Regions from separate parts of the Homo sapiens genome. Here region 1 is linked to region 2. Evidence: promoter capture Hi-C in human tissues and cell types (Jung and others, 2019). All regions are on one chromosome and are shown on one strand. The core of a region is centred on a gene start or on the middle of the fragment in contact, and the rest is flanking DNA. Distances in the headings are between cores, read along the strand shown.

Region 1 (3,097 bases), core at 128-2,627, 1.2 Mb before region 2:
CCTGTTAGTTGATGCAGTTTCTTCATACTATCAACGGTCTTTACAATTTGGTATGTTTTTGCAGTGGCTGGTACTATTTTTTTTCTTTTCATATTTAGAGCTTCCTTCAGGAGCTTTTGTAAAGCAGGCCTGGTGGTGAAAAAATCTCTCAGCATTTGCTTGTCTGTAAAGGATTTTATTTCCCCTTCGCTTATGAAGCTTAGTTTGGCTGGATATGAAATTCTGGGTTGAAAATTCTTTTCTTTACGAATGTTGAATATTGGCCCCCACTCTATTCTGGCTTGTAGGGTTTCTGCAGAGAGATCCACTGTTAGTCTGGTGGGCTTCCCTTTGTGGGTAACCCAACCTTTCTCTCTTCCTGCCCTTAACATTTTTTCCTTCATTTCAACCTTGGTGAATTTGACAATTATGTGTCTTGGGTTTGCTCTTCTTGAGGAGTATCTTTGTGAGGTTTTCTGTATTTCCTGAATTTGAATGTTGGCCTGTCTTGCTAGGTTGGGGAAGTTCTCCTGGATAATATACTGAAGAGTGTTTTCCAACTTGGTTCCATTCTCCCCATCACTTTCAGGTACACCAATCAAACGTAGATTTGGTCTTTTCACATAGTCCCATATTTCTTGGAGGCTTTGTTTGTTCCTTTTCATTCTTTTTTTCTCTAATCTTGTCTTCATGGTCTATTTCATCAAGTTGATCTTCAATCTCTGATATCCTTTCTTCTGCTTCATCAATTAAGCTATTGATACTTGTGTATTCTTCATGAGTTCTCGTGCTGTGTTTTTCAGCTCCATCATTCATTTCTGTTCTTCTCTAAACTGGTTATTCTAGTTAGCAATTTCTCTAACCTTTTTTCAAAGTTCTTAGCTTCCTTGCATTGGGTTAGAATACGCTCCTTTTGCTTGGAGGAGTTTGTTATTATCCACTTTCTGAAGCCTATTTCTGTCAATTCGTCAAACTCATTCTCCATCCAGTTTTGTTCCCTTGCTGGTGAGGAGTTGTGATCCTTTGGAGGAGAAGAAGCATTCTGATTTTTGGAATACTCAGCCTTTTTGTGCTGGGTTTTCCTCATCTTCGTGTATTTATCTTCCTTTGGTCTTTGATGTTGGTGATCTTCGGATGTGGTTTATGTGTGGATGTCTTTTTTGTTGATGTTGACGCTATTCCTTTCTGTTTGTTAGTTTTCCTAACAGTCAGGCCCCTCTGCTGCAGGTCTGCTGGATACTCCATGCCCTGTTTGCCTGGGTATCACCAGTGGAGGCTACAGAACAGTAAAAATTGCTGCCTGTTCCTTCCTCTGGAAGCTTTGTCCCAGAGGGGCACCTGCCAGATGCCAGCTGGAGCTCTCCTGTATGAGGTGTCTATTGAGCCCTGCTGGGAGGTGTCTCTCAGTCAGGAGTCATGGAGGTCAGGGACCCACTTGAGGAGGCAGTCTGTCTCTTAGTAGAGCTTGAGTGCTGTGCTGCGTGATCCACTGCTCTCTTCAAGGCCAACAGGCAGGAACGTTCAAGTCTGCTGAAGCTGCACCCACAACCACCCCATCCCCCAAGTGCTGTGTCCCAAGGAGATGGGAGTTTGCTCTATAAGCCCCTGACTGCGGCTGCTGCATTTCTTTCAGAGATGCCTTTACCAGAGAGGAGGAATCTAGACAGGTAGTCTGGCTACAGTGGCTTTGCTGAGCTGCAGTGGGCTCTGCCCAGTCTGAACTTCCCTGCGGCTTTGTTTACACTGTGAGGGGAAAACCGCCTACTCAAGCCTCAGTAATGGCGGATGCCCCTCCCCCCACCAAGCTTGAGCATCCCAGATAGACTTCAGACTGCTGTGCTGGCAGCGAGAATTTCAAGCCAGTGGATCTTAGCTTGCTGGGCTCTGTGGGGGTCGGATCCCCTGAGCTAGACCACTTAGCTGCCTGGCTTCAGCCCCCTTTCTAGGAGAGTGAACGATTCTGTCTCACTGGTCTTCCAGGTGCCACTGGGGAATGAAAAAAATCTCCTGCAGCTAGCTTGGTGGCTGCTCAAACAGCCGCCCAGTTTTGTGCTTGAAACCCAGGACCCTGGTGGCGTAGGCAGCCAAGGGAATCTCCTGGTCTGTAGGTTGTGAAGACCATGGGAAAAGCATAGTATCTGGGCCAGAGTGCAGTGTTGCTCATGGCACAGTCCCTCACGGCTTCCCTTGTCTAGGAGAGGGAGTTCCTGACCACTTGTACTTTCCCGGTGAGGCAATGCCCCACCCTGCTTCAGCTCCCCATCCATGGGCTGCACCCACTGTCTAACCAGGCCCAATGAGATGCACCTGGTACCTCAGCTGGAAATGCAGAAATCACCTGCCTTCTGTGTAGATCACGCTGGGAGCTGCAGATCGGAGCTGTTCCTATTCAGCCATCTTGCCCAGGAACGTACACTGTTTAAGTACATATTTTCTTAGAATAAAACAGAAACATTTTTCTATTTCTTATAAAAATAGTTTATAGTAAAAACTTTCCTAATTTAGACCCATGAGAAAGTCATTTTGAATTAATGCAAATATGAGTTATGGAATATGCCTCAACTCCATACAAGTAACAAAGATACTATTTTTTTCAGAATCTTACTATTCATTAGAGAGGAAGTTTTATAATGAACATACTAAAGCATAGTCCTAAAAAAAAAAAAAGTTTAGGCCCTTGTGCTACCAAACTTGTCTAGATCAGCAATACCAAATGTGTTTGGATGTAGTTTATTTCCTCAGTGTAGGTAAATAACACGCTTATATATGTTTTTAAGTGTGAGTTTTTGAGAAAATCCTTTGCTCCACTAATTATTGATTCCAAATTTTAATTTGGTTTTGCAAAATAGCAAAACCAGGTTTTGCTATTTTAATATCACATGATAACACTAGGCACAGTACAGTGGAATTAAAATAAACATTTCCGACACCCAGGAGCTCACAAGGTTTTCTTTTATAAAAAGTATTTTTTTTTTCAAAACTCTATTCCTTGAGGCCCCTCAGGGCATGTTGAGGGTAGGGGCAGGAGTGAAAGAAGTGGGCCAAGCTCTAGACCCCCTTCTTGCCACCGTCACTTCAAAGATTCCAGGTTCATGTTGCTTTCCAAACAAATTGGGTT
Region 2 (3,103 bases), core at 17-2,516:
GATGTTCAGCAGCTCCTAATTGGTTTCTAAGTTGAAGACAGAGTGACTTAAAGATCTACTGTTCAGTGAGTTTCCCACATCCAATCTCCCAACCCTATCTAAAGGTTCTGGTAAAATCAAAAGAGATGATGGTAAGGATGCAAAACTAAAGGAAAATTCAATCTCTTTGAACATGAGTATAGTCAAGTCCATCCTTACAAAAACTCTACAAACAGGAAAGTAATTTTAATGCAATTGATTTAGCAAATGTTTTTCACTGGCAAGATCACATGAAAATGTGATTTCTCACTCAAGGACCGCGGAATTACCATAGCTGGTTAATAAACAAGTACCAAGCATCATCTATTGTTAAGTTCCCGGCTCTGAGACTTTCTAAACGTTACTCGTCTGTGTTTACAACTTAAGTTTGACTGGGTAAAAACAAAGCCAAGTGTGGGTTTGAAATTTTAAAAACAGGCTCCTTCATCGATGGATTTTACTCTAACCGAAGTGTTTACACTTTCCTGTTCATTTCAACTAGTGGACTGCATGTCACTCCTGGGCCCCCGGCAGGTATCAGCTACCGTCACCACCAAGAACTTGGGCTTGGGGGGGAAGCGGAGAGGATGCGACTGCGAGTATCCAAGTGACCAAAACCAAACCCGGGCGCGGAGGCGAAGCCTGTCTGGCCGCAGTTCGGAAAGGGGCAGGGGCCCGGGTTTGGGGAGCCGGGCGCAGCCGCGTCCCTCCAGCCCCCGGCCGCGAGCGAAGCAGGGTGTGCATCTGCCAGGGAGCGTCGCTGGGCGGGGTAGGTCCCAAGGCAGAGGGAGAAAGGCGCGCCTCCCCACGGGTCCCGGCCCCGCTGTGGTGGGGAAAGGGGGACTGCGAGACTCCTCGATACCTGACACAGGGCCAACTCCTCCTTTAGGCTGCTCAGCTCTTCCTCCAGCAGCTGCGTCCGGGTCACCATCGCCTCCTCTACCGAGATGCCCTCTAGCCGTCTGGACCCCATGGGCGCGCTGAGGAGGGGAGCATGAGCCGGAGCTGCCCCCCCAGGCCCTCGCCGGCCCCCTGACCCTTCTTCACCCACCCAGATTTTATCACTTTCGTCCGCGACCACCTCCCGCGCTGCGCCGGCAAAACCCGAGGCCTCGCTGCGCATTGCGTGTACTTCAGCTCCCCGCCCAACACGTGGGGACCTGGGGCCCAGCTGTCGCGCTGGGGGCGAAGGGTGCGGTGAGGGAGGCGAACGCGCCGCCATGGCTGCGGCTGCTAACGGGTCAAGTTCCCTGTTGGAAACTCCACCTCCCTTTCCCCAACCCGGCGAGCCCGGAACGCCGAACCGCGCATGCGCGAGGCTTTTCCCGCCTTGGCCCGCGGTGTCCCGTGTTCTCTGGTCCTGGCCGGCTTCCCGCGGGCAATGCGCCCAGCGCGAGCCTTGGGGTACGCACGCGCCGTGGCCCGAAAGGGTAAGGCCGGTCCGCCGGGCAGGCCATCCCAGCGTCCTGTGCCTGAGTCCTTGGCCAGGATCGCCTGGATTTCCCGCCCACCTAAAGCCCTGCCTGCCACTTACATCCCACCTCTTAAAGCCTTCCTTGACAAGCCCCCAGCCCCAAATGATCCTTAACTGTGAAATCCCTCTCCTTCAAGGCCCCTGCCAACTCGTGTGACACGTTTCATTGACCGCCCTGGAGTGTCAGTTACACGGCTAATCTCCCCAGCCCTGTTGTAAGCTCCTTGAGGATCAAGGAATACGTTTTACACTTAAGTGTTTTCTTCACACCCCTTGGCAAAACTGCTTTAGTACAGCTGACATCCAGCTGACTAATGTCAAGGAGATGTGGAAAGCCTTGTGCTGATCTGGGACTATCAAGCAGGTTTCCAACTTGAATGATGATCCTTTGTACACCCTTTGTCTTTTGTTTTGCAGGAGTCATGATTTCCTTTGAGTTTTTATGTCAGCTTCTTTATGCGTTGGCTGGATATCAGAGGAAGTGTAGCCCACATTGCTGAACAGTTTGGGTCCTTGGAGCAGTTTGAAATCAGTAATTTGGAGCGTGGATGAAGAAACAAGACCTACTTTATCTTTTGTTCTCTTTTTTTTCTTTTTCTTCTGGCTTTCTTTATAAACTTCAAATAGGTAGTAATCGTATCTTTCTTTGCCCTTCAAATACTTTGTTACTATTGATAAGATTAATGAGATGCATATTGAGCTGGCACCAGAACATCCCTGAAAGTTAGAACTGCCCTCTTCTTCAGAAAGGGTTCCAGAATACTTGGGGAAAGCTGAGATGGGGGTTGAGAGCAGAAGTAGAGAGATGACCACTTTACTGTTAACTTCATTTAACCAAAATATCACCATCTCTGCATGAGAATCTAGTCAGGATGCCAAAAGACACCCTCCCAATTAGAATCCTGCCAAGGCAACCAAGATAAGTGGACTTCTTTCAAACTGAAGGTGAATTCCTCACAAAAACTTATTAAAGAGTACATTAGAAAAAGTATGTTTATAAGCCTGTCTTAGAACTAGCTAACCTACTGAACATTTACCATATGCTGAGTCCAGTGCTAAGCACTTTTCATATATGAACTCACTTAATACATATGTCACCTTCAATTAGATTATTATATATCTCCATTTTTACTAGTGAGGAAACAGACTTGCAAGGTTACTGTAACTTCTCTGAAGTGCCATGTCTGGTATCAGAAAAGCTAGGCTTTGAATTCACTGAATTCCACTTAACTCTGAAAACCTGTACTTTGATCGCTACCCTGTCTCCACACCTGTGACTTGAAATACAACATTTGGTCTTGATAGTCTGTGAGATTTCACTAGACTTAAGACTGGGAAGTCTAACCACATAAGTTACGTGTTTGGCCCCAAATCAGTATTAATGCACATTTTTAATTGCTGTATGTCATTCACTCAAAAGGACATCATTTCACCTGATCATAAAAAGATCCTTTTGAAAAGCAGTGGTATAAATATGTATATGTGACCTCCCAAAAGGATAATATCCTGACTCTTTGACTAGGCATTTTTTTAAATTTTGTCTTTATTGGAGCAAAATACACAAAATACACAACATAAAATTTACCATCGTAGGCATTTTAAATGGCTACA

What was found. The method cuts DNA at HindIII sites, captures the fragments that hold promoters and counts their contacts. A contact is called where the count stands out against the background at its distance.
Region 1: a fragment that was not itself captured here is called in contact with the fragment with the promoter of CNTLN in region 2 in 1 of the 25 tissues and cell types used here (lymphoblastoid cells).

The regions. Positions count from the first base shown.
Region 1 is chr9:18,304,198-18,307,294 of GRCh38, reverse strand. It overlaps a transcript of ADAMTSL1 not described here. Among named protein-coding and RNA genes, the nearest start is that of ADAMTSL1, 170 kb to the left of the region's middle. The HindIII fragment of the contact is 4,237 bases long and covers 1-3,097 here.
Region 2 is chr9:17,133,203-17,136,305 of GRCh38, reverse strand. CNTLN (centlein) reads right to left here and starts at 1,266. Exons shown (of 26, transcript NM_017738.4): 1 at 881-1,266. The coding sequence starts at 1,240. RefSeq lists an enhancer at 422-985. The HindIII fragment of the contact is 19,584 bases long and covers 1-3,103 here.